Linked DNA regions of Homo sapiens: all the other regions are linked to region 2. The links are contacts of gene promoters, found by promoter capture Hi-C in blood cells and fetal thymus (Javierre and others, 2016). All regions are on one chromosome and are shown on one strand. The core of a region is centred on a gene start or on the middle of the fragment in contact, and the rest is flanking DNA. Distances in the headings are between cores, read along the strand shown. Region 1 overlaps CLIP2 (CAP-Gly domain containing linker protein 2). Region 2 holds the start of LIMK1 (LIM domain kinase 1). Region 3 has its middle 34 kb from the start of GTF2IRD1. Region 4 overlaps CLIP2 (CAP-Gly domain containing linker protein 2).

The links. The method cuts DNA at HindIII sites, captures the fragments that hold promoters and counts their contacts. A CHiCAGO score of 5 or more calls a contact.
Region 1: a contact is called between a fragment that was not itself captured here and the fragment with the promoter of LIMK1 in region 2, in 10 of 17 cell types (neutrophils, fetal thymus, naive CD8 T cells and 7 more). The highest score is 13.1, in neutrophils.
Region 3: a fragment that was not itself captured here is called in contact with the fragment with the promoter of LIMK1 in region 2 in 2 of 17 cell types (naive B cells and total B cells); the score reaches 7.9 in naive B cells.
Region 4: a contact is called between a fragment that was not itself captured here and the fragment with the promoter of LIMK1 in region 2, in 6 of 17 cell types (naive B cells, megakaryocytes, neutrophils and 3 more). The highest score is 7.6, in naive B cells.

The regions. Positions count from the first base shown.
Region 1 is chr7:74,396,099-74,400,621 of GRCh38, reverse strand. It overlaps CLIP2 (CAP-Gly domain containing linker protein 2), which reads right to left. Exons shown (of 17, transcript NM_003388.5): 14 at 3,389-3,548; 15 at 67-252. Among named protein-coding and RNA genes, the nearest start is that of GTF2IRD1, 56 kb to the left of the region's middle. The HindIII fragment of the contact is 6,759 bases long and covers 1-4,523 here.
Region 2 is chr7:74,081,694-74,086,759 of GRCh38, reverse strand. LIMK1 (LIM domain kinase 1) reads right to left here and starts at 2,956. Exons shown (of 16, transcript NM_002314.4): 1 at 2,715-2,956; 2 at 916-1,012. The coding sequence starts at 2,769. RefSeq lists enhancers at 434-1,031, 2,143-2,412, 2,899-3,577, 3,473-3,582, 3,578-4,256 and 1 more and silencers at 2,603-2,652, 2,763-2,812, 2,933-3,202. The HindIII fragment of the contact is 9,779 bases long and covers 1,226-5,066 here.
Region 3 is chr7:74,417,496-74,422,139 of GRCh38, reverse strand. No RefSeq gene overlaps it. Among named protein-coding and RNA genes, the nearest start is that of GTF2IRD1, 34 kb to the left of the region's middle. RefSeq lists a silencer at 4,515-4,644. The HindIII fragment of the contact is 1,814 bases long and covers 2,206-4,019 here.
Region 4 is chr7:74,375,568-74,380,501 of GRCh38, reverse strand. It overlaps CLIP2 (CAP-Gly domain containing linker protein 2), which reads right to left. Exons shown (of 17, transcript NM_003388.5): 10 at 3,680-4,615. Among named protein-coding and RNA genes, the nearest start is that of GTF2IRD1, 76 kb to the left of the region's middle. RefSeq lists an enhancer at 1-202. The HindIII fragment of the contact is 8,624 bases long and covers 1-4,934 here.

The sequences.
Region 1 (4,523 bases), core at 1,078-3,577, 310 kb before region 2:
GACGGGGGCTCCGAGGACACTGCCCCGTGGCTTGCCTCCTGGTGGGCCCTGTCAGCCGCGGCTCACCTGGGCCTTGTCAGGGCAGCTCCTCATGGCCTCCATCAGCTTCTCCACCTGCTGAGCCTGGTCCAGCGCATCCCGCAGGGCGTCCTCCGTGCTCATCAGCTGGTGCTGCAGCCGCAGAAGCTCGGGCGCCGAGGACCGGTCGATGAGGGAGTAGCGCCTCTGATCCGACAGGGATTTCTCTTTGTCCTGGAAGTGGCAGGAGAGTGGAAGAGTACATGAGTGTGCGTGTGTGTGTTGGTGGGCGTCTCAACTCTAGGCAGGAAAGTCTTCCAGCCTCACTTTGTCTCTGGGTTCCAAGCCTGGGCATCACCCAGAGGTCCCTCAGGCCTCTGTGAGGTGCTCCATGGTCTCCAAGTGGGGAACCCAGGACCCCATCCCTCTTGACTTTTTTTTTTTTTTTTTTTTTGAGACAGAGTCTCGCTCTATCACCTAGGCTGGAGTGCAGTGGCGCGATCTTGGGTCTCTGCAAGCTCCGCCTCCCGGGTTCATGCCATTCTCCTGCCTCAGCCTCCTGAGTAGCTGGGAGGGGCCCACCACCACGCCCCGCTAATTTTTTCCTATTTTTAGTAGAGACGTGGTTTCACCGTGTTAGCCAGGATGGTCTCAATCTCCTGACCTCGTGATCCACCCGCCTCGGCTTCCCAAAGTGCTGGGATTACAGGCATGAGCCACTGCGCCCAGCCTTGCCTTTAAAAATAATTAAAAAAAGAGACAGAGACCGAGCCTGGTGGCTCACGCCTGTAATCCCAGCACTTTGGGAGGCCGAGGCAGGCAGATCACCTGAGGTCAGGAGTTCGAGACCAGCCTGGTCAACATGGTAAAACCCCATTTCTACTAAAAGTACAAAAATTAGCAGGGTGTGGTGGCTCACATCTGTAGTCCCAGCTACTCTGGAGGCCTAGGCAGGAGAATCGCTTGAACCCGGGAGGTGGAGGTTGCAGTGAGCCAAGATCATGCCACTGCACTCCAGCCTGGGCGACAGAGTGAGACTTGGTCCCCACCCCCCCCCCCCCAAAAAAAGACTGAGTCTCACTCTATTGTGCAGGCTGGAGTGCAGTGGTGCAATCACAGCTCATTACAGCCTCCAATTCCTGGGCTCAAGTGATCCTCCCACCTCAGCCTCCCGAGTAGCTGATACTGCAGGGCATGCAACCACACTTGGCTAATTTTTAACTTTTTTTGTAGAGATGCGGTCTTGTTATGAGGTCCAGGCTGGTCTCGAACTCCTGACCTCAAGCCATCCTCCCAACTTGGCCTCCCAAAGCAGTGGGATTATAGGCATGAGCCACCGCACCCAGCACCCTTCTTCTTACACTGCCCCCACCCAACTGTCTTATGAGGTTCCTCCTCTCCATAGTCACCCCCACCATGGCACCCAGAGCTGTACCTGCCCCAAGGCCCGCCAGCCTCCTCGCTCCTGCACAAACTCCATCCTTCAGCACTGCCCAGTCCTGCCTGCTCTGACCCTCCAAACCACCTCCCAACAGAACCTCCATCCTGAAATCAAGAGGCTTCTACCCACACACCAAGGCTTCCCAAGTTCTCCCGTGGACACAGTGCAGGGAGATGATGAGACAAGAGGCTACCCTGGGGCAGAGGCCGCCACTTCCCAAGTAAACTTGACCAATCTGTGCCCCATGGGCACCAGTCTGAGCTCAGCACTGCGCACTCCTACAAGGCTCTAGGGAAGCCCCTGGGGGTATTCAAGACTCCCCAGTCCGTGCCAACCCCAGGGGCTTATCTTCTGTTGAGCCACAGGGACCACAGAGGGTGCAGCCACCAACCCCTGCTAGCCAGATAGGCCAGGACTTGAAGGCCGGCAGGACTCAGTGACCCCCACAGCCACAGTCTGGGTGTGTGGCCAGAGTGATGCTCTTTATCCCGGAACCCTGAGGGCCAAGGGCCTACTCCCGGATATAGGGGGTCGGTGGCGCTGAGGCCCTCCCTCCAGCCTGTGAACCACCCCCTTGCCCAGGGCTGGGCCCTGCTCTCCTTCCATCACCTCTACAGTGGCTGAGCCCAATGTCTGGGCAGGAGGGTGGTGGGGGGCTTCAGGACAGCTTTCCCAGGCAAGGGCCTGTCCTCCTGGACCCCACGCCCTCCATATCGTGACGTTCACCAGGCTCAGGCTTGTCCTGAGTGCTCATCACAGGAGGATGGGATGGGGATGGGGTGGTTTCTTTATTCTTTTTTTTTTGAGACAAAGTCTCACTCTGTCGCCCAGGCTGCAGTGCAGTGGCGCAATCTCAGCTCACTCCAACCTCCGCCTCCTGGGTTCAAGTGATTCTCCTGCCTCAACCTCCCAAGTAGCTGGGATTACAGGCACACTCCACCATGCCCGGCTAATTTTTGTATTTTTAGCAGAGATGGGGTTTCGCCATGTTGGCCAGGCTGGTCTCGTACTCTTGACCTCAAGTGATCCGCCTGCCTCAGCCTCCCAAAGTGCTGGGATTACAGGTGTGAGCCATTGCGCCTGGCCAAGGGATGGGGATGGTCCTGTGCTATGCTACCAGCATCACCTGCCTACCCCAACCCGTCTCTGCAGACTCAGTGAAGTCAGGTTCCTATTCATAATAGAAAAGAAATCTCGACCGGGCGCAGTGGCTGACACCTGTAATCCCACCACTTTGGGAGGCCGAGGCAGGAGGATCACAAGGTCAGGAGTTCGAGACCATCCTGCCTAACACGGTGAAACCCTGTCTCTACTAAAAATACAAAAAAATTAGCCAGGCGTGGTGGCGGGTGCCTGTAGTCCCAGCTACTTGGGAGGCTGAGGCAGGAGAATGGTGTGAACCAGGGAGGCAGAGCTTACAGTGAGCTGAGATCGCGCCACTGCACTCCAGCCTGGGCAACAGAGCGAGACTCTGTCTCAAAAAAAAAAAAAAAAAACAAAAAAAACTCAGCCACCCAGAATCCCAGGCTTGCTGTAGACTTTCAAGTTCTTGTCTCCTTCCTGAGACTGATGTGTGAAGCCCCACTGCAGGACCCTGAGCAAGGAACTGGCTTGTGGTTGATTACTCCTCTGAACAGGGAGCTCTTTACCTGTATTGGCTCATCCTGCCTCTGGACAGGTCAGATAGGAAGTTTTCCTTTGCACCGTATCACACAGACTGCCACATAGGCAGCCATGATGTCTGCAAAAGCGGCTAGCCAGGGTCCCTCCACCTGCCTGTGGTCCTAGAAGATTTCAAATCCTCACCATGACTCAGCTGTCCCTGGGGTCATTCCAGGAGGTCTCCAGTCTCCATGGCCTGACAGCAAGGCTAGCCCAGCCCCACCCGGACTAGTGCCCCTGCCCCTAGGCCACCCCTACCCCACATACCAGCCCGGTCAGCTTTTCACGCAGGCCCCGGATGTCATCCTTGAGTTTCTGCTCCTTGATCCGCCACTCAGCCTTGTGTACCTCACGGCTCAGGTCCCTCTCCGGCCCTGGGGAGTGACGATTGGCCTCCAGCAGCAACACCCGCAGTTCGTTCAGGCTCCTGGGGGTGAGGCGGGCACAGAACCACTGCACTCAGCCCTGGCTCCTCCAGCTCCCACACTCTAGCAATTTGCCAAGTGTCCAGGGGCTGACCAACTGGTGGGGGACATGGGCTACTAGATGGCATCTGTGCCACGAGGGGCCACAGTAGACACAATTCAACCAAAGCCCAAGAGGGGCCAGGATTTGGGGCTGGGATGGTCCTGAGGACTTGACCTTTCCTAGAGTACTTTTTAAAGTTGTTGTGGGGGGAGTGCAGAGCACAGTGGCTCACGCCTGTAATCCCAGCACTTCAGAAGGCCGAGGTGGGCGGATCATTTGAGGTCAGGAGTTTGAGACCAGCCTGGCCAACATGGTGAAACCCCATCTCTACTAAAAATACAAAAATTAGCCAGTCGTGGTGGTAAGTGCCTGTAATCCCAGGTACTCGGGCAGCTGAGGCAGGAGAATCACTTGGACCTGGAAGGTGGAGGTTGCAGTGAGCCAAGATCGTGCCATTGCACTCCAGCCTGGGCAACAGAGCAAGGCTGTCTCAAAGAAAATAATAATAAATAAAATTTTTAAAGAAAAGACAATATATTTGTTTAATTAAAACACACACACACACACACACATAACCCCAAAACATTTACCCAAGAAATCTCATGAGGCAAGACATTTTATCTATTTTTAAAAAATAGAGACAGGGTCTTGCTATGTCGCCCAGGGTCATCTTGAACTCCTGGCCTCAAGTGATCCTCCCGCCTTGGCTTCCCAAAACGCTGGGATTACAAGTTTGAGCCACCACCCCTGGCCAGCAAGACATTTTAAATACCTGATGTCAAATGGGTTTTATCTCCCATGTCACCTCTTAATCAACTGACAGGATCTACCTGGAGTACTATGATGATAATGGTTCTGAGGCCACATTTGGGGTCTGCAGGAAACAGTGCAGTGATCGATTGGTAATGCCTGCCATGGGCATAGGCAGGAGCAC
Region 2 (5,066 bases), core at 1,707-4,206:
GGGTGCCAGCAGGGGGCTGAATTGCAGGCACTGGCTCAATTGGAGGTCTCTCCCATCCTCTCTAAGATTTAGATCTCAGAGATCTAGGATGACAACAGAGGCCAAGGCGTTAGCTCACGCCTGTAAGCCTAGCACTTTCGGAGGCCAAGGCAGGAGGATTGCTTGAGGTCACAAGTTCAAGACCAGCCTGGGTCTCAATAGTGAGACCCTGTCTTTACACAAAATTTAAAAAATTAGCTGAGCATTGTGGTGTATACCTATAATCCCAGCTACTCGGGAGGCTGAAGTAGGAGGATCACTTTAGCCCGGGAGATGGAGGTTGCAATGAGCCGAGATGGCACCACTGCACTCCAGCCTGGGCAACAGAGCAAGACCATTTCGAAAAAAGAAAAATACATAAAAGAAAATAAAATGAGGCCAGGAGCGGTGGTTTATGTCTGTCATCCCAGCACTTTGGGAGGCTGAGGTGGGAAGATCACTTGAGGTCAGAAGTTTCAGACCAGCCTGGCTAACATGGCAAAACCCGTCTCTACTAAAAATACAAAAATTAGCTGGGCGTGGTGGTGCACGCCTGTAATCCCAGCTACTCCAGAGGCTGACACAGGAGAACTGCGTGAGCCCAGGAGGAAGAGGTTGCAATGAGCCAAGATCGCACCACTGTACTCCAGCCTGGGTGACAGAGCGAGACTCCGTCTCAAAAAGAAAAAAAAATAGATAAATAAAATGACAACAGGAAGGCCTGTAGGGATTTTCTAGTCAAAACACCTCATGTCATAAATGGTAAATTAAGGCCACGAAGTCACAATAGGGGACGGCACCAGGAGGCATATCCCGGCCTCCCCCATTCCTTGACCAGCCTGTCCTCTCTGGCAGGCCTTGTTTAGGGCAACACAGGCCCTGGGCACCCCACCCTACCTGAAGCAGTCTGCGTGCCAGTCCGCGTTCAGGGCCTGGAGGTACTGGCCATCATAGATCCTCTGGCCGCAGCTTGCACACACGGGCAACTCGCTTCCTGCAGGGTGGGAAGGGAGTTGGGAAGCATTCTCAGGAAGTGTGATCTGGTGCAGGCCCAGCTTGCCCTGCCCACCCCACATATACCTACACCTGCACCAATCCTCGCACACTGCACATGTGCAGCGCCCAGGCAGGGCAGTCGCTGTGCCAAATAGGAGAAGAAAGGGCGCTGGCCTGAGTCTTGCTGAGATACTGACTAGGTTGCCAAGCTTCTCTGGCCCTGTTTCCCTATGTATCAGCTTAGGAGGAGGATCAGGTCCATCCTCCCGCTATAGCATTGGATCTGGCAAGGTAAATGAGGAGAAAGGAAGCAGTGGCTTTAGGGATAAGGCAGTGGGTGACATTCCTATCACAGCCTCCTTTCTTCCCTCTCCTGCCCAGGAAGAAGTACTAAGAGGGCCCTTCAAAGGCAGGGACTGGACAGGGCTGGATTAGTGCATCCTGGGCTGAAGCCAGCTGGGAGGTCAAGGGCAGGAAGCCTGGAGGTGCCGGCCCTAACAGATCCTTGGCAATGAATGCCCTGGCTTGGCAAGGGGAGGGGGCTGCAGACCTGGGTACTCCCAGACACCTGTCCCAGGGAGGCCTGGCACCTCCTCTAGCCAGCCACAGGCATGCTTAGTCATCCTTGGGGCCTGGCACCCTTGGAGCTGGTGGGCCCTGGAAAATGCCCCAGACCTGCCCCTCTCCACTGTACAGAAGGGGAGACTGAGCCCCAGAGATGGCATGGCTTGCCCAGTCACATAGCTAGGTCCCAAGGCCACAACAGCCTGACCCTCTGTGAAGACGCAGGTACCTTAGGTAGGCAGGGGCTACAGGAAGGTGGGCCCCTACCCCAATCAGGTTTTCATGGGCCTGGGAAGAGTTGGTGGCAGGGGGAGGTGTGGAGTCAGGCCCTGCCTTGGGGCCAGGTGGATCTAAGTGACAGGTCAGCGAAGGAGATCCAAGGAGGGGCCCCCAGACCCTGTCCTAGGCTGGGGGAGTCCTTGAACCCTAACTGCAGTGCAGTACTGCGCCTTGGGCCCCAGTGAGGGAGAAGGGGCTAAAGAGGAGGTTAGGATGAGTCATGCTCCCAGCCAAGACTGAGGGCAGGCACCGGGTTTGGGGCACGGACAGGGAGAGTGGATGAGGCTCCCGCAGTACACGGCCTCCGGCTTCCTGGACGCCTATCTCCGCTCTACCCATCTGGCCCCCAATCACCGACACCGGGGGGGCAACTACCCAGTTTCCAAATGTACAGAAGGGGAAACTGAGGACCAGGAAGTCAGCGCCTGGCTCAAGGTCACAGAGCCGGGCAGGCGCCCGGCGGCCACTGGGACCCGGGGCTGCGGCTTCCCCAGCCGCTCTTTCTTCCGAGACTGGATAAAGGGTGGCCCCAGGGCGAGGCCCGGGTGGTGGACAGAGCACGCGGATGGAGGCCGACGCGGGGTGGGCAGTGTCTGGGAGTCCTTCGCGGGGGGACGTGGGAGGAGGAAAAAGGGTCCAGGGGCCCCCAGACCCGCAGGAGGGCAGCTCGCCGGGGGCCGGGGAGGGGGATCCCGGGCGGGAGGGGGACAGGGAGGGGCCTGCGGGCTTCGTAAGGACGAGCTCATCCCGGAGGAGGCAGGGGCGCGGCCTCCTGGCAGACCCGGCCCCCTCCCGTGCCCCACGCTGCCCCGGGCACCCCCTCCAGGCCCTCGCCCCACACCCCGCGGCCCGCGCACCTTCCTCTCCCATACGTTCTTCCCTCCAGGTGCAACAAAGTAGCGTCAACCTCATGCACTCGACGGGGGGCGGGGCCCGGCGGGGCTGGGGCTGGGGGCGGCCGGGCCCGCGAGCTCGCCCACCGCCGCCGGCCCGGGGAGGCGGGGGCGGAGGGCGCGGGCCGGGCCGGGCCGGGCCGGGGGCGCCTCTCGGACACCGGCGGGGAAACCGGCTCGGCGCCGCGGCGGCTTGGGGAGCGAGCGGAGGGGCGGACCGAGGCGGGGCCTGTGAGCTGCGGCACGGGGGCGGGGCGCGGGCGGCCGGCGGCGGGAACGGCCCTGCGCGGCCCCGCCCCCACCAGAAAACCCCGCCCCCACGCCCAAGGCCACGCCTCTAGAGGCCACGCCCCGCTGCGGCCCGGCCTGGGGGCGCCGCGAGCTGGCGCGGCGCGCCCCGCCCCTCCCCGCCCCTTCCGCCCTTCATTCATTCTTCTTTCTCCCAGCGACAGGCCTCGGCTGGGAGCTGCGAGGCCCAGCTGTCTCGGAGGGCCGCTAGCTCTGCTGGGGCAGGCCAGGAGGATGTAGGAGCCTAGAGAAGGGGCCTCCGCTTCCCTGCGCGAGGCCCCCACAGACCCAAACCAGCTGCAGCCGGGAACTCGGATCAGAGCTGGAGAGGCCCTGTGGACCCCCAGGACACTGGTGGTCGCCTTGGGGAGGGGAGGGAGGCGGGCCGGGTTTTGTCCCTCTCTCTGAGGCCTGCATTGAGGCCAGGCTGGGCCCGGGGAAGGTGACGGTCCGCGTCTCAGGCCTCGCGAATGAGCAGCACCAGAGAAAGGAGCGAGCCCCTGCCAGGCGGTGACAGGTGTACTCTTCTCAGTGCCGATTACCTGGAGCTGGGGCTGCCCTGCCCAGGGTCCTGGAGGGAGCACGGGTTTGGGCTGAGTCAAGCGTCCAAAGGAATTGGGTGGTCCAGTCCAGCACTGATGGTGGAACGCCCTGCCTAGATGTGGACAATTCTAGAATGCTGGACATGGGCAGGAAGCAACCCTGTCCCCCCTAGGTCTACCTTCCACGTCATCCCTCTGCCCAGGAAGCAGTGACCGGAGTGGAGCCACGTGCCCACGTGAACCCAGTGAACAAGAGGCAGCGCTAGCCCAGCTCCAACTCTAGTCATCATGTTTGTGGGGAGAGGTCTAGGCACGTCTGCAAAGTGGGGGGCACTCACCCCTGGGTGCAAAACAATTACGTGGGGTGGGAAGAAAATACTAGATTTTTTTTTTCTTTTTTTAGATTCGGTCTCGCTCTGTTGCCTAGGCTGGAGTGCAGTGGCGGGATCTCGGCTCACCGCAGTCTCCACCTCCCAGGTTCAAGCAATTCTCCCACCTTAGCCTCCCGAGTAGCTGATATTACAGGCGTGCACCACCATGACCGACTAATTTTTGTATTTTTAGTAGAGATGAGGTTTCACCATGTTGACCAGGCTGGTCCTGAACTCCTGACCTCAGGTGATCCACCCTCCTCGGCTTCCCAAAGTGCTGGGATTACAGGTGTGAGCCACCACGCCTGGCCAGAATTTTTAATTTCTCATGAGAAAGAAGGCTGGGCACAGTGGCTCACACCTATAATCCCAGCACTTTGGGAGGCCAAGGTGGGAGCATCACGTGGGGCCAGGAATTGGAGATCAGCTTAAGCAATGAAGTGAAACCCTGTCTCTTCTAACTTTTTTTTTTTTTGAAATGGAGTTTCACTCTTGTTGCCCAGGCTGGAGTGCAATGGTGCGATCTCAGCTCACAGCAACCTCCACCTCCCGGGTTCAAGCCATTCTCCTGCCTCAGCCTCTGGAATAGCTGGGATTATAGGCATGCACCACCATACCTGGCTAATTTTGTATTTTTAATAGAGACGGGGTTTCTCCATGTTGGTCAGGCTGGTCTCGAATTCTGGACCTCAGGTGATCCACCCACCTTGGCCTCCCAAAGTGCTGGGATTACAGGCGTGAGCCACCGCGCCCAGACTTTTTTTTTTTTTTTTAATTAGCCAGGCATGGTGGCTCATGCCTGTAGTTAGTTACTTGGGAGGCTGAGGTGGGAGGATACTTGACCTCAGGAGGTTGAGGCTGCAGTGAGCTATGATTGCACCATTGCACTCTAGCCTGGGTGACAGAGACCCTGTCAAAAAAGATAGGGAGGGAAAAAAAGGGGAAGGAAAGAGAGGGGAATGAGAGCCTTGTAACTTGGCTGTAGGGCATATACCAGGCAGGACCCTGGCTGGAAACAGAAAGTGCCACTTAGTGGGGCTAACTGGGGAGAGTTTGATAAAGGGGATGTTTGCAATGCACTGGGGAGGGGGGATTAAAGGAGATCAGTAAGGACT
Region 3 (4,644 bases), core at 1,863-4,362, 340 kb before region 2:
GGAGGGCGGATCACTTGAGGTCAGGAGTTGGAGCCCAGCCTGGCCAACATGGTGAAACCCCACCTCTACTAACAATACAAAAATCAGCTGGGCGTGGTGGCGCATGCCTGTATTCTCAGCTATGTGGGAGGCTGAGGCAGGAGAATTGCTTGAACCCAGGAGGCAGAGGTTGCAGTGAGCCAAGATCACTCCACTGCACTCCAGCATGGGCGATGGAGTGAGACTGTGTCTCAAAAAAAAAAAAAAAAAAAAAGCCAGCAAAGATTTAAAATCAAGAGTTTTCTTTATAATCATGAAAAATAGTTCAGATAAAAGAAATTAAAAGACTAGCAGCACCAATAAGATGAATACCTTATAAATGAGAGGGCTAATGTGTATTACAAAGTTAAAATCAGCAAATACAAAATTAAAATGAAAAGCTATGAAGTTGGTCTTAAAAGTTACTCTCCACAAGAGATAAAAGTTAAGAGGTTTAAAATAATGATAAAGTGACAAAATAAATGTGATTTAAGAAGATAGATGATCAATGCCTCAGGTCTGGGATTAAAAGATTAAAAATACAAACATTAAAGACGTAAGTCTGAGAAGATGGAGATGACCACCCAGGAGACAGAGAGACGGTGCAGAGAAGGGGACCGCAGATGAAGAACTGGCATTAGGGAGAAAGAATATCTTGTTTCTTTTCTTTTCTTCTTTTTTCTTTAAGAAGATACTGGGGGTCAGGCAGGGCGTGATGGCTCGTGCCTGTAATCCCAGCACTTTGGGAGGCCGAGACAGGGGGATCACGAGGTCAAGGGATTGAGACCATCTTGGCCAACATGGTGAAACCCTGTCTCTACTAAAAATACAAAAAAATTAGCTGGGTGTGGTGGCGCACACCTGTAGTCCCAGCTACTCAGGAGGCTGAGGCAGGAGAATCAGTTGATCTCAGGAGGCAGAGGTTGCAGTGAGCCGAGGGCCAAGGTCACGCCACTGCACTCCAGCCTGGCGACAGAGCAAGACTCTGTCCAAAAAATCCCCAAAAAGATACAGTGTCTCACTATGTTGCCCAGACTGATCTCCAGCTCCTGGGCTCAAGTGAGCCTCCTGCTTCAGCCTCCCAGAGTGCTAGGATTACAGGCATGAGCCACCGCACCTGGCCCATATTTATTTTCTGAACAAGAGATAAACTTTCAAGTAAAGAGGACTGAAATAAAAGAAAGAAAGAAGGAAGGAAAGAAAGAACAAACGAAAGAAAGAAAGAAAGAAAGAAAGAAAGAAAGAAAGAAAGAAAGAAAGAAAGAAAAACAGCTTTATTTATTTATTTATTATTTATTTATTTGAGACAGGGTCTCGCTCTGTCATCCAGGCTGGAGGGCAGTGGCATGATCATGGCTCACTGCAGCCTCGGCCTCCTGGACTCAGGTGATCCTCCCACGTCAGCCTCCCCAGTAGCTGGGATTACAGACATGTGCCGCCATGCCTGGGGTTTCACCATGTTGCCCAGGCTGGTCTCGAACTCCTAAGCTCAAGCAATCCTCCCGCCTCGACCTCCCAAAGTGCCAGATTACAGGTGTGAGCCACCATGTCCAGTACAGAAAAGTTGTTTTAAAGAAAACAATTCTGGGTGGATCACCTGAGGTTAGGAGTTGAGACCAGCCTAACCAACATGGTGAAACCCTGACTCTACTAAAAATACAAAATTAGCTGGGCGTGGTGGCGCATGCCTGTAATCCCAGCTACTTGGGAGGCTGAGGCAGGAGAATCGCTTGAACACGGGAAGCAGAGGTTGCAGTGAACAGAGATTGCGCCACTGCACTCCAGCTTGGGTGACAGAGCGGGACTCCACTTCAAAATAAAGAAGGAAAAAGAAAGAAAGAAAAAGAGATAAAGGAAGGGAGGAAAGAGAAAGAAAGAAAGAGAGAGAAAGAGAGAAAGAAAGAGAAAGAAGAAAGAGAAAGAAAGAAGGAAGGAAAGAAAAAGAAAGAAAAAAGAAAGAAAGAAAGGAAAGAAAGAAAAAGAAAGAAAGAAGGAAAGAAAGAAAGTGGGTGGGCAGAAAGGAAGGAGGCAGGGAGGGAGGAGGGAAGGAAGAAGAGAAGGAGGGAGGGAGGGAAGGAGGGAGGGAGGGAAGGAGGGAGGGAGGGAAGGAAGGAAGGAAATCAATTAATTAATAGAGTTACTAAAAAATATTGAATAAATAAATGAAGAAAACTATAGCCAAAAGCTTGAACATTTCGGATCAAGATGGTCAAATAAACTCAAATTACAAAAAAAAAAAAAAAAAAACAAAAATGAGGACAATTAGATGACTTGGAAAGGGTACAGAAAGAGGACAGTTTGTCAGGATGCGGGGGCAACCTGGCAGTGTCTGGAGCTCTGGGAGAGCAGTTGAGGTGGAGTGCAAGATTGAAGATGGAAGTTTGTGCAGTGGTGGAATTGATCAATCCGTCTGACAGCCACTCGTGGGCACCTGTGTGCCACGCCCTGGGCTGAGAGTCAGAGATGTGGGGGTGGCAGTGGTGGCTCATGCCTGTAATCCCAGCAATCTAGGAGGCTGAGACAGGCCAATCGTTTGAGCCCAAGAGTTCGAGACCAGCCTGGGCAACATGGCAAAACCCCATCTCTCTAAAAATACAAACAATTAGCTGGGCATGGTGGTGCACACCTGTAGTCCCAGCTACTTGGAAGGCTGAGGCAGGAGGACGGCTTGAGCCCAGAGATGAAGGCTGCAGTGAGCTGATTGCACCACTGCACTCCAGCCTGGGCAACAGAGTGAGACTCTGTCACACACACACAAGGAAAAAAACACACAAAAATTTCAGTTAGGAGGACTAAGTTCAAGAGATCCAAGTACAACATGGTGGCTATCCTTGATAACAATGTGTTCTAAACTTGCAAAGTACCAAGACAGTGGATTTTAAGCGTTCTCAGCACACTCCCCACAAAAAGACAAATGAGGTAATGCATATGCTAATTAGCTTGATGTAGCTGGTCCACACTTTATACATATTTCAAAACATCATATTGCACACCATAAATAGATACAATTTTTGTCAATTTAAAAAAAGAGGTTAGAGATATGTTGCGGTGCACACAGAGCACTCCCCTCTAGGGAGAGAGGTGTGAATCAAGTCCCCGATGGGCGCGTCTCTGCAGGCCGTGAAGAAAAAGTGTGTGTGTGTGCATGTGTGTATGTGTGCACAAGTGTGGATGTATATGCATGTATATGCGTGTGTGTATGTGTATGTGTATGTATATTGTTTGTGTGTATATATGTGCATGTTTGTGTATGTGAGTATACATCTCTTTGTGTGTAACGTGTGTATGTGCGTGTGTACCTGTGTACATGTGTATATGTGTACATGTATGTGTGTCTGTGTGTATGTGTATTTGTCCGTGTGTACATGTGTCTGTAGTGTTTGTGTGTCTGTGTATGTACGTGTTTGTGTATGTGTATGAGTTTTTGTGTATGTGTACGTATTTGTGTGTGTCTGTGTACGTGTCTATAGTGTTTGTGTATGTATGTGTTTGTGTATGTATATGTGTATGCATGTGTGTACGTGTGTACATGTATGTGTGTACGTGTGTGCATGTTTATATGTGTCTCTGTGTGCGTGTATATATATATGATGTGTACATGTATGTGTGTCTCTGTGTATGTGTGTATGTATCTGTGTGTGTGTGCCCATGCATGTGTGTGGGTCACTTGGAAAGGCCTGGGGGTGTGGGGTTGGAGGCAGGATCTGAGGCCTGAGCTGGGGGTGGGGGACAGGGCCCAGAGTGTGATGAATATGATGGACCCCAGGCTGCGGACCCGGTGCGGGGCTGTGAAGGTGCTCCTGGTGAACTCCAGGCTTGGGGCTGCTGGGAAACCGAGGCACAGCTGTGCGTGGGGCCAGCTGGAAATTGTGGCAGCGGGAGAGGGTGGCTGGGAGGGGGTCTAGACGGGGCTGGAGCCACCCTGGAGGCAGCAAGTCCTTCCCTTTGCTGGTAGCTCCAGAGAAAGGGCCCACAGCCTTACCCAAGGTTCCAGAGAAGCTTCTAGAAGTGAGCATCCTGGTTATTCGTCCTATACCATGTTCCTTCTGAATTTACACTGGACCCCAACTTCAGTCTCAAAACACTTCCCAGCCTCTCTTGGGGAGTGGGAGCGGGACCAGGGTGACTGCCCAGCTGAGGTTGGCAAGGGGGACGTGATGGGAGGGTTCAGGACTGAGAAAGTAGGCCAGGGTCAGCTCTGTGGAGGGAGCCCAGCCTGCGGGGAGGGGAGGCAGTGCTGTGCGGGAGGAGGGAGGCCAGGACAGTCCTGGCCCGGCACGGTCCCAGAGAGGGAATGAATGTCCACGCCCTGGCCGGCCTCTCTCCCAGGGATGGAAGTGTGGACACACACGGATACTCACAGAGAGGCCTGAACCAAGTCTGGGAGGCAACAGGGACAGGGAGCTCTGGGACTAGGAGCCGGGACACCTGGGTCCCCGTTGTTGCTCCCACGTGCAAAGCTGGCCTGTGTCTCCAGCCTTGCAGCCCTAAAGCCCAGTCTGGACAGAGGGTGGAATGGACAAGCCGCAGTGAGAGGGCCGAGGGTGACACCTGCTGGTAAATGGGAGGCATCACAGGCAAGACTTGGCTGGTGGGTCTCTTGCCGCCCAGGGGTGCGTGGTGTCA
Region 4 (4,934 bases), core at 127-2,626, 300 kb before region 2:
CTGCAATGCCTACAGAAATTTGTCCTGGGAATTTGTTTCTCTGTCTCCCAGAGACAAGACTTCTGGCCTCAGTTTCCCATCCATCAAACAAATATTGGCTGCTTTGGGTTAGTGTGTGCACAGCGTGCTTGGGGCCACCTCCTGGAGGGACTTCATTAAATGCTAGCTTCTTTCTCTCCAACATTTCTTTTTAATAATAAACCCAGAGGCCAAAGAAGAAAAGACCTATTAAAAAAAAAAATCAGCCTGGCACACATCACTATGACAAAAGTCAAAACACAACCAATAGGCTCCCTGCCACTCTTGGCAGGAGTTTCCAGTCTCCTGCCCAGGCTGGCTGTCCTCCGAGCCAGCCAGAGTCTGGCACTGCAGATCAGGGAAGCACAGAGCTGAGTAGGCAGTCACCTCTATCATCCTGCCCCTCATACTTCTGTTCATACATCCCAAGTCCCATTTGAGTCTCAATTAGTTGTAATGAACTAAGCCCCTTGGATCATAATTTATATACGATGCAGTAATGAGGCTCACACTAAATTTTTCTTTTTCTTTTTTTTTGAGAAGGAGTCTCGCCCTGATATCCAGGCTAGAGTGCAATGGCTCAATCTCAGCTCACTGCAACCTCCACCTCCCGGGTTCAAGCGATTCTCCTGCCTCGGCCTCCCGAGCGAGTAGCTGGGATTACAGGTGCCCACCACCACGCCCAGCTAATTTTGGGGTTTTTTTATTATTATTTTTTGAGATGGAGTCTCACTCCGTCGCCCAGGCTGGAGTGCAGTGGCGTGATCTCGGCTCACTGCAACCTCTGCCTCCAGGACTCTGAAGCGATTCTCCTGCCTCAGCCTCCCGAGTAGCTGGGACTACAGGCGCCCGCCACCATGCCCGGCTAATTTTTTGTATTTTTAGTAGAGACGGGTTTTCACCATGTTGGCCAGGCTGGTCTCAAACTCCTGACCTCAGGTGATCCACCTGCCTTGGCATCCCAAAGTGCTGGGATTACAGGTGTGAGCCACAGCACCTGGCCACTAAAATAATTTTTAAAATTCCCATATTTACTACCTGAGACCAAAAGTCCAGTTGTGCTTAGGCCTAAACCTCTGAACATGGGGACATATGCGTTTAGACTAAGCCCCAGTGTATACAGAAAATCAAGAGATGGGCTTTTTTTTTTTTTTCCAGACGGAGTCTCCCTCTGTTGCCCAGGCCGGAGTGCAGTGGCACGATCTTGGCTCACTGCAACCTCCACGTCCCGGGTTCAAGTAATCCTTGTGCCTCAGCCTCCTGAGTAGCTGGGATTACAGGTGTGAGCCACCGCGCCCGGCCAGGAGATGGGCTTTCTGGGGCCACTACTACTTCTTGGTCCAAGGGCACCTGTGAATGAGGGGCAGGGACTGGGGGAGGCATCCTCAGGCCTCTGTCCCCCATGCTCTGTGGAACCACAGCAACCTCAAACCTCCCCGCTCAGGGAATTCAGTTCCTGAGTTGCAGGCTGTTTCTGCCTGCCCTGAACAGCTAATCAGGCCATGTGCACGTAAGCTAATTTGGGTTTCTTCCTTTTCTTTCAGCCCAGGATCCTGGAAGAGCACTTGCTAAAAAACAAAATCCCTTCCTGGGAGAAGGGGCAGGAAGGCCATTACAAGGGACCTCAAGGCATGATGCAAAAAGATTTCCTTTTAGACAAAAAAAGCCCCCTGGATTCATTAGTCCTGAGAACTTACTGCCCACATGCTAAATTCTCGGGTTTTTTTGGTTTGTGTATTTTCTTGAGTCACAGCCTCACACTGTCACTCAGGCTGGAGTGCAGTGGTGCAATCATAGCTCACTGCAGCCTCAAACACCTGGGCTCAAGTGATCCTCTTGCCTCAGCCTCCAGCGTAGCTGGGGACTACAGGTACACTACCACTGTACTCGGCTAATTTTTTATTTTTGTAGAGATGGGGTCTAACTATGTTGTCCAGGCTGGTCTCAAACTCCTGGCCTGAAGCAATCCTCCTGCCTCAGCCTCTCGAAATGCTGGAATTATAGGTGTGAGCCACCACACCCACCCCTAAATTCTGGTTTGAATATACATGAGGGTGGTCAGGTGCAGTACCTACTCCCTGTAATCCCAGCACTTTGGGAGGCAAAGGCGGGCAGACAGCTTGAGCCCAGGAGTTTGAGACCAGCCTGGGCAACATGAGGAAACCCCATCTCTACAAAAACTATAAAAATTAGCCAGGTGTGGTGGGGCACACCTGTGGTCCTGGCGACTTGGAAGGCTGAAGTGGGAGGCTCGCTCAAGCCTGGGAGGTTGAGACTGTAGTGAGCCATGATCATGCCACTGCACTCCAGCCTGGGAGACAGAACAAGACCCTGTCTCAAAAACAAAACCAAAAAAAAGGCCAGGGATGGTGCCTCACGCCTGTAATCCCAGCACTTTGGGAGGCCGAGGCGGGCAGATCACCTGAAGTCAGGAGTTTGAGACCAGCCTGGACTACCTGGCGAAACCCCACCTCTACTAAAAATATAAGAATTAGCTGGGCGTGGTGGTGCATGCCTGTAATTGCAGCTACTTGGGAGGCTGATACAGGAGAATTGCTTGAACCTGGGAGGCGGAGGTTGCAGTGAGCCGAGATCCCACCACTGCACTCCAGCCTGGGCAACAAGAGCAAAACTCCATCTCAAAAAAAAAAAAAATGTATGTGGGGGAACTGGAAACTCAAGAATCTCTGAGTACAATTTGTATACAGGCAAGAGTCCGTTGCTAGCCATCCCTCCTATGAATTAATTCCTGTTGTCTTGGGCACTCTCTGTCAGCCCCACAGGGAATGGGGTTGAACATCTCTGCCACTGAGAGGCTGTGGACCTGGGAAAGTCTTGGTTTGCTCACCTGTGAAATGGAGCCAGTATCAATCTAAGGATGTTAAGGTGAAATGGAGTCACATAGGGCCTGGCATAAGACGTGGTACCCAGAGCCACTCAAAAGGCCCTTCCTGGCCCTGGTGGAGTGGGCACAGCCCACCTGGGTGTTGACCTCCTCAGAGGGGCTGGGAGGATGGGTTCAGCTGAAGGAAGAAGGGGTAGATGCTTAAGGAATTTCTAGATTTGGAGCAAAATTGACATTGGTGACAGCGACCTCTTTAGGGCCACCCCCTCTAGCCTTCCAGACCCCACTCCGGGAACTCCCACATTCTGGGGAAGTACTCGTTGGCACCGTTGCTAAAGTCTCATTAGGACTGGCAGAAAGGGGGCTGCCGCTGATTCCCCAGGTGAGCTTCTAAGTTGGAGATGGGTGCCCCCAGGGGGATAGGCAGAGCTTGCCTTCAGGTCTGTGCCAGCCCCAGGGCACAGGGTCTGAGGTCCCGGGTCCTAGGAGCCCTGCACCCTAAGACATGTATGGGTAAATCAAAGCCCGTCCTCTGCACGGAGGTCCCATCTCTCCAGGTCTGCTCTGTGCGGGGGGATGCAGCCAGGTCAGCTCAGACCAGCTTCGGTTCTCCCTGGTCACCAGGGCGCACTGCCCCTCTAACAGAGGGCCAAGGAGCTCCTCCTCCTCTAAGCCAGGTGACCCCTTCCTTGACTGCCCCAGGCATGCTCTCGGGGACAAGGGAAATGCTTCCTGGGCTGCAGAACAGAGGTCAGCAAAAGGCCAAGCCCTCCCCAGCCCGACCCTCCCGCCCCAGCAGGAGGGGCAGGCGCCTACGTGGGTGTGCTGGGAGGAGCACAGGGCCTCGACCGCCTGGAGTCTGTTCTCAGCCACCAGGAGCTTCTCCCGCAAACTCTCGACCTCCTGTTTGCCCTGGGCTTCTGCCCGCTGCAGCCGCTCGTAGTCCAACATCTTCTTCTCGGCCAGCGAGATCTGCTCCTTGAGGAACTCGATAGCCTGCGCCTGGCCCCGGTACTCCACGTCCAGTTTTTCCAGCTCGTGCACACGCAGCTCGGCATCCCGGCGCTGGTCCTGGGCCTCCTGCAGCTCCAGCCGGTGCTGGCTGGCTTGCACCTCCAGCTGGGCCCGCCAGTGCCGCTGCAGCCCAGCCAGCTCCTCCTGGGCCTCCTGCAGCTTCTCTCGCAGGGCCTCCTTCTCCTTCACGTGCATGGCGGTCTCCAGGTCATGCTTGGCCTGCAAGTTACCCAGCTCCAGCTGGTGCTCCATCTTGATGCCCTCCATCACTGCCTTCAGCTCGCCGATCTCCTTCTGCTGGGCGCCTGGGCCCGAGTTCAGGGTGGCTTTGAGGTCCTCCAGGGACTTCTGGTGGTCCGAGGCCAGCGAGTCCAGCTTGGATTTCCAGTTGTCCATTAGCCCCATGTTCTCGCTGGTGGCCTGCTGAACCTTGTCCTTCAGGCCCGCCACCTCCTGTGCGTACTTCTCGTTGGCCGCGCGGAGCTTGTCCACCTCCGCCTGGTAGGCCTTCAGGGCCTTCTCGTATTTATCCCGCAGCACCCCACTCTCCCTCTGGTGTTCCTTGCTGGCCGAGAGCAGCCGCTCCCGTAGCCGCAGGATCTCGGCGGCGTCTGGGTGGTCCGGAGGTGGGGGACCCGAGTGCAACAGGCACTGCTGGAGCTCCTCGATTTCACCTCGGCGCAGGGTGAGCTCCTCCTCCAGCTGCAGCACGCGCGACTTCTCGGCCACTGTGGTCAGCTGTGGGGAGAGAGGGAGACAGGGATCAGCGGGCTGGCTGGCTGGCTGGAAGGTAAGGAGGGCACAATGGTGGGGGCCGGGTAGGGGGCGTCCATTCGAGGGCACCAGCCCCAGCAGGTGGAGGTCATGGGAAGGGAAAGGCGCTCACTCCCTCCTGAGTGCTGGCTGGATGTAGAGGCCTGGCCCATCACAGTATCCAGAAAGACTTCCCTGGCTGTACCCCAAAGATTCAGAGCCAACTGTCGCCACTCCTCTACCTAGGTGGCTTGGACAAATTGGTGGTTAAAAGAAACCACCTATTTGAGGTTACAGCTTTTTT